Linked DNA regions of Homo sapiens: region 1 is linked to region 2. The links are contacts of gene promoters, found by promoter capture Hi-C in blood cells and fetal thymus (Javierre and others, 2016). All regions are on one chromosome and are shown on one strand. The core of a region is centred on a gene start or on the middle of the fragment in contact, and the rest is flanking DNA. Distances in the headings are between cores, read along the strand shown.

Region 1 (3,489 bases), core at 113-2,612, 450 kb before region 2:
TTGAAGTTGCTGACAAACAACAGCTCCTCCAATGTTATGCCTGTATGGCTGAGCTTTCAACCTGGTAAGATTTCATCTCTCCCTATGAAATTGTACCTCACTGAGTCACCTTGTCGACTTTACAGCCTGTCCAGATATTATTGTATGTGATTCTGTCATCAGATCCATCTGCTGACCCTCCCAGCTGTCAGCGTCCTCATTAAAGGATTTGTTATATTTTGAATAAAACCAGGCAGACCTTCAAAAACCTCTCTCCACATTTACGTTGTCTGTCCAGTAACCATGTCGGAAAGAGGAAACTAGGTTCTTTTAGAATGATTCATTCTGATATCATAGGAGAAAAAATAGGTTGTAAACTGATGGCAACAGGGGAGTTGACTAGGCCAAGTGCAGACAATATGGCGTGGTGGGATTGTGGGTAAACTATTACAATACATATGTAATACTGTCCAAGGACATTAACATCCAAAAATTTTAAAATACTGCCGACCCAAAATCATATTTATAGACTGTATTCAGCACAGAGTCAGGCAGTTTGATGGCTTTGGAGAGATAAAGGAGTCTGTTTGGCTTGTCTATACTCATTTAAACTGTTCGAATAATTTTTCTTTCAAAGAATTCCATAATATACACTTTTTCCAGGAATCCTCCTTTCAAAGGAGGAATGAAATCCATCATTCTGTATTCACAATACTTAACTAAATCTAGAGTACCATGCTTAATTGGTATAGTGTAAGAGTAAACACTTTAAAGATCATCAACCACAATGACATTTAAGATAATTGGCAACAGTTATTATTTGTTGATTACCTAACATGTACAAGGCTATATGTTAGGTAATAAAGATACTATAAAATTCAAAAGTCCCTGCCCTCTGAGAGCCTGTGATTTCCAATGAAGCAGGCAAAATACACAGAAAATAATAGTAAGAATTCTGGTTTTTATATTTTATATTTTATATTTTAGGTCAACAAGTCTTAATCCTGGTAGCACATTAGGACTACCTGGGAAGCTTTAAAAAAAAAAATACCAATGTTGTGGCCCTACCCCAAAACAATTAAATCAGAATTTTTGGAGTAGGGCCGGGATATGCAAATTAAATTACAGATCTGGAAATCAGATACTGTTAAAATGTAAATTTTGTATATTATGTTTTTCTCTCATATTCTGTACTTCATTTCCCAGCTTTTATTTGAGAGACTTTCCAAGTATTATGTTTAGCATATAGATTTTCACTTTACACAATCTAGATATTCTAGATTTATTTATTTAATTATAAAATATTAGATATAAACCATATATTTTGTTATATAAACAGCAAATCTGTTTTAATACATTTTAATTTTATTTTTTGCCACCTATAAATAAACAAAATAAATTTATCTCTTTTATCCTCCAACAAATATTTCAGTGTCTCTTAGCAAAGAAGTTTCTTCTTTTAAGAAAATTAATTATATCATCTCTACAGCAAGTACATTTAAACAGTTCATCGCTAGGCATTTTAGCTGTTCACTAGCGTGCTCTTATATAACTTGTAAAGGTTGTAAATATTTAAATCTCTTCTAAATTATATTCTGCAATGGAAACAACAGACCTTATTTGGAGGCTGACCATGGAAGTGTTAGCATCCTGGCATCTCTAGTCCCCTCGGACAGCAGCTTTGAAAATTCTGGCCAAAAATCATGCAAACAGTAGTGATACAGTTAACAAGAAAAAGCTTATTCAGTGATGATAGAAATAGTGATGTGGCACAATTGTCTGTTAAACTGAAAAAAACTGTTTTTAATATTCAGGTTGTACTATACTTTTTTACCACGAGAGGTCCCTATATCCTGTTTGGTGTATTCAGGCCATTTGATGTGCATATCAGACTGTTGCAACACTTTGGTATTATTTCTGTCACTCTACATTAACCAGTTTTTTTAACATAGGAGAGCTAAACTTTTATTCCTTAGAATCAGCTTATTAAAAGAATTTCCTTTAAATCTCATCTGGACCTAGAAAATATCAGCATCAAAGGATATAAGAGTGGTGGAAAAACCAGGAAAATAAGTTACATAAAGTGGCAGTGAAATAGAATTCCTTTGGAGGTTAAGTGAAAACACAGGCTTCTTTGTGAGTTAAGAACAAACAATACCACTCCTTTCCATCTTAGGTCTAAATTCCATTTTGTTCAATCAGTGTTAATTAGTATCATAATTAAACATGACTTTTTTCATAGGCTGCCTTAATCATACATGAATAATATTATTTTTATCACTTCAGTTTGGCTATATGGTACTAATCATACTCTTGCCTTGAATGTAAGGAAACATAAATGTTCCTGTGTCTGCTCCTGCACTAATTTAGGTATTCATATGTTGAATACTTGCTCCATGCCAAGCAGAAAGATATATTTCTTGCCTTTAGAAGTTTATAGTTTCTTTGGGGGATATAATTTAATAGACAATTATAATCCATTGTAGTATGTTTAACATAACTCTTCATTTGATTTAATACCTTGACTTATTTCAATAAAAAGATGTTTCTATTTGTATAATTATGTCTCCTATTCCTTTAATAATTGGAGGTTACAAGGGGGCAAAAATATTTTCTCCATGACAGTGATCTTTTGTAGTAAGAGCAACTCATAATCTACCATTGGGTATGTGTTTGTACAGGGCTTGTCTTTTTTAGTTTGTTCATTTCAGTCTGGCTTATGAACAAAACAAGGACATCTCTGTTATGACTTCAGAGAATAATTTTATCTGATTAAATTATTATATTGGTACTCTTTTGAATCAGACATTATTAATTGAGATACTAATGCAATTAACCTAGGTAAGAAATTTAAAATATTGTATTTAAATGCGTATGCCTTGTATTTTTATTCCTTTGGAAATGTTAACAGTAGCTTTTTAATGGTAATTTATATTTTGATCACTAGATGGCACTAAGCACATATAGCTAAGAAAAAATAATTTTTTCTCAAGTTTTCTGAAAGCAAGTCTATGTTTTCAGCATTACACACTATAAATTTTTTTCTTACGTAGCCCATAAAATTCTTCTTGCTACAAAAGCTTTGTTTTTCTAAGTGAAATAATCTCACATCTGACTCCCTTAGGTATAGTAAGTTACGAGAGAGACACAGCCTCTGAAATTAGCAGTCATCCACTCATCAAACTTCTCTATTCTTAGCCATTTAGATTTATTATTATCATCTGTTTCTTAAACTGACCTTTTCTTACTAGTACTTCCTCTTCCCTGGGAAACAGAGAATATATTTTAATTTTTTTAAAGGGCTATTATATAGCCTCTGGCATGTTAAAAATAGATCCTAGAGATTCACACACAGAAGTTCCTGTAGGGCAAAATATAAAAAGAGCAAAAACTTTGTTTTTGTTTTTGGTCTTCTAAATATTATTCTCATATTGCAAAATATTATTTCTTTTGTTAGTTTTGGTCTGGTTATGATATTCATGCAATATATTTTCTGAATCATGATGCTTT
Region 2 (3,834 bases), core at 741-3,240:
CAGGCTGGACTGTTTTTCCCTACTTTTCAGGAATTTTCTAGATTCAGTTAAGTTCTCTGAATAGAAGCCTTCATGTTTTAAAGTACTATCTTTAGTCAGGTTTTGAGCTGAATTTTTTGGATGATTAGATGCACAACCTGAAAGAATACTTGAATTAACTTCCATTCCACACTGTAGGGTGTTGTCTTTCTTGTTATCTGAAGTTCCATATTGTACTGTATTTATCCTCTCAAAGTTTCTTTCAAGTGTATTCTGCTCAAAATGAGCTGTTTCGATATGAAAACACATTTCATCATAATTCACACCTGACAACTTGCAAAATGGACATATAATTTCACTTTCCATGTGAACAATTAGGTGAGCTTTCATGTCTGGTTCTGAGGTTACTGTTTCACCACAAATATTACAGGAAAGCATGGTATTGACAAGTAGCTAGAAAAGAACATAACATTAGGTTTCAAAGATTTGAAGAAAAAATGTGTTTCATAAAATGATTTGAGACAATTACTTGGTCTTTAACGCTGGATTATTTTGATGAAGAAGTTTTCAATGTACTTACTGTTCCTCAAATACAAAAACTTATTTATAAATATCAACCAAAATTTCATTTATTTTTTTTTAAAAAAAGGCAATAATAATGAATACAAGTAATTTTAAAAATAAAATATTTCAAAAAATGTCTCTGGCCCAAGGTGGAGAAAAAATAACGTTTAAAAAATTGTCCAGGTAAGATAAATCAGGTAAGAAAAAAATGAAGAGAAGAAACCTATTTATCAACTGATATATCTAAATACTGAATACTGAAGCTGATTATATTGAGGAGGTAAATAAACACATCTTACAAGTAGAGTTTAACACTGTAAACTTAGAGTCTTACATGTATCAAGTGCTATTTAAGTGCTATTATTGTAATTTAAGTACTATTATTATCGCTCTACACATAAAGAAATTCTGGCTCAGACAGGTCACCACAAGCAGAAAAAGGTGGAAGCCAAAATGCCAACCCCGTCGTGCTCCACAGCCTGTACTCTCAGCCCCAAGAATAAAAGCAGAAGTGGTATAGTAGAAAAAAGCACTTATTCCAGAGTCAAGAGAACTGGGTAATAATTTCAGATTCATCATTTTGGGTAAGGAATCTCATCTCTCTGAGGTTCAGTCAAAGACTACTGTAAAATCCAAAGGTAGTTATTTTTGGATTTTATGGACAAATAAAGTACTGACTACTGACATAAAAGTGTTAAAAAAATAATTTTAAAAAAAGCAATCACTTCGCCACCACCTTCCTACTACAGGTCATCGTTCAGCTAAAGACTATTTAAAATCAAACAGGAAAAGTAATGACACTATCACTTCATTTAAATAAATTTACCTTTAAAATACCTCCCTACATTGTCCTTATTTTTTTCATTTCTCTCCAGACAAATGGATACAGTCTCTGATTTTAGAAGGCAGTTCTCCCGAGCCCCCAGTGGGATTAATGTCACACCCGGAGTTTCTTCTCTTCCGGTGGCTGGGACACGGTCAGACACAGAATGATGAACTTGGACATGGACTCAGATTAAGCGGGTAAGAGACAAGAGAGTACCCAGGTGCCTCAGAGGAAGCGAGTGAGAGGCATGAAGGACCCAGTGCCAAGCTAGGTACGTGGTGGGTGAGGTCAGAAGACCGCAAGGCCGAGTCTCCCAAACGTTCCGCGCCAAAGGCACAAGCCAGGCACACGAAACTAGCAGGCACTAACTGGGTCAAAGCTTTGGGCCTGGGGAATAAGGGAGGGGACCATCAATTCTTACCGGCCCAGAGGCCAGCAGCTGCCACACTGAGCTCCGCTAGGCTTCCCCTTTGGGCCTCGCTGGCAGACGAGTGCGTGCGCGGCGTCCAGTACCTCTCCTGGCCTGATGACTGAGGCCAGGCCTTCCCAATACGCAGAGTTTCACAGTTAACCGAGGAAAGAATTAGGAACTTCCAACACCTTGGCCCTCAGTACCTCATTCAAAAGCACTTCCTTACTCCCACGGAAAAGAAGTAATCCCAGAATGCGCCGCTCCACGCCGGTCTCTATGCAGTGCATTCTGGGAGATGTAGTCTTTTTTTTTTTTTTTTTTTTTTGAGACGGAGTCTCGCTCTGCTGCCCAGGCTGGAGGGCAGTGCGCGATCTCGGCTCACTGCAAGCTCCGCCTCCCGGGTTCACGCCATTCTCCTGCCTCAGCCTCCCGAGTAGCTGGGACTACAGGCGCCCGCCACCATGCCTGGCTAATTTTTTGTATTTTTAGTAGAGACGGGGTTTCACCGTGTTAGCCAGGATGGTCTCGATCTCCTGAGAGATGTAGTCATTTTTGCATTCCTCCCATTTCCGAGTTTTTCCTTCTCCCATCGAGTTTCCTGCCACTCAATTGCTAGGAGAGAAAACCGGGCTCTGAGGTCATTCATACTTAATCTGAATGAGTTCACAGGGCAGGTCCTGGGGCAAATAGCAGTCTACACTAGGGCCTGCTGAGTAGCACTCTATTTTAGTATCAATAAAGGGTTTATAATGCTGCTAGGTATCAAGCTCCCAGCTATGCACCGAAGGTAAAGGATACCAGGTTCTTTCCTCAAGGTTACAAGATAACAAATATCTTGGTTTGTATGTATGTATGTATGTATATATATATATTTTTTGAGACGGAGTCTTGCTCTGTCGCCCAGGCTGGAGTGCAGTGGTGCCATCTCTGCTCACTGCAAGCTCCGCCTCCCGGGTTCACGCCATTCTCCTGCCTCAGCCTCCCAAGTAGCTGGGACTACAGGCGCCCGCCACCACGTCTGACTAATTTTTTGTATTTTTAGTAGAGATGGGGTTTCACCGTGTTATCCCGGATGGTCTCGATCTCCTGACCTCGTGATCCGCCCCCCTCGGCCTCCCAAAGTGCTGGGATTACAAGCGTGAGCCACCGTGCCCGGCCGTATGTATGTATTTTTAGAGAGGAGGACTCTTTCTGTCACCCAGGCCAGAGCACAGTGGCTAAAATAGCTCACCGCAGCCTCGAACTCCTGGCCTCAAATGATCCTCCCATCTCGGCCTCCCAAAGTGTGAGCCACCATGTTAGCCCAAAATCACAAATATCTTGTCATTCAGGCTTTATTTCATTCAACAAATATTTAAAGAGTGTCTATTAGAAAGGCGTTTTGCTTGCAACAGGAGCTGCAGCAGTAATCAAAATACACAAAATTCAGGATTTTTGAGGCTTACATGCTGGTGAGGTAGAGGAAATAAAAAGTAAATTAACTGATCATGATAAGTGCTATGAAGAAAATAAAACTGGATTGGCCAGGCTCAGTGGCTCACATATGTAATCCCAGCACTTTGGGAGGCCGAGGCGGGCAGATCATTTGAGGTCAGGAGTTCAAGACCAGCCTGGCCAACATGGTGAAAGCCCGTCTCTACTAGAAATACAAAAATTAGCTGGGCGTGGTGGCAGGTGCCTGTAATCCCAGCTACTCGGGAGGCTGAGGCAGGAGAATTGCTTGAACCCGGGAGGCGTAGGTTGCAGCGAGCTGAGATCGTGCCACTACACTCCAGCCTGAGTGACAGAGCAATAGATTTTTGAGACTGAGTCTCAAAAAAAAAAAAAAAAAAAGAAAGAAAGAAAGAAAAGAAAACTGGATTATAGAGATACGAATGTTTAGAAAAGGTCTTGATGAAGGGTTGAGTGTGCTGATGAACAAACCTTACACCAACAGGGGAAATAGCATTTCAGACAGATAAAATAACAAGAACGAAGGCCTAAGGCTGGAGCAAAAAGAACACTTTTTGACCAGAGCATAATGTGGTAAGGAGAAAAATGATTACAAGATGAG

The links. Contacts are between HindIII fragments. The CHiCAGO score rates a contact against its expected background, and 5 or more counts as called.
Region 1: a contact is called between a fragment that was not itself captured here and the fragment with the promoter of ZUP1 in region 2, in 1 of 17 cell types (naive B cells). The highest score is 5.1, in naive B cells.

The regions. Positions count from the first base shown.
Region 1 is chr6:116,215,377-116,218,865 of GRCh38, forward strand. The region is part of intron 6 of NT5DC1 (5'-nucleotidase domain containing 1); the gene reads left to right. It also overlaps a transcript of COL10A1 not described here. Among named protein-coding and RNA genes, the nearest start is that of TSPYL4, 37 kb to the right of the region's middle. The HindIII fragment of the contact is 705 bases long and covers 1,011-1,715 here.
Region 2 is chr6:116,666,776-116,670,609 of GRCh38, forward strand. ZUP1 (zinc finger containing ubiquitin peptidase 1) reads right to left here and starts at 1,991. Exons shown (of 10, transcript NM_145062.3): 1 at 1,791-1,991; 2 at 1-432. The coding sequence starts at 417. RefSeq lists a silencer at 915-1,064 and an enhancer at 1,826-2,015. The HindIII fragment of the contact is 3,066 bases long and covers 1,747-3,834 here.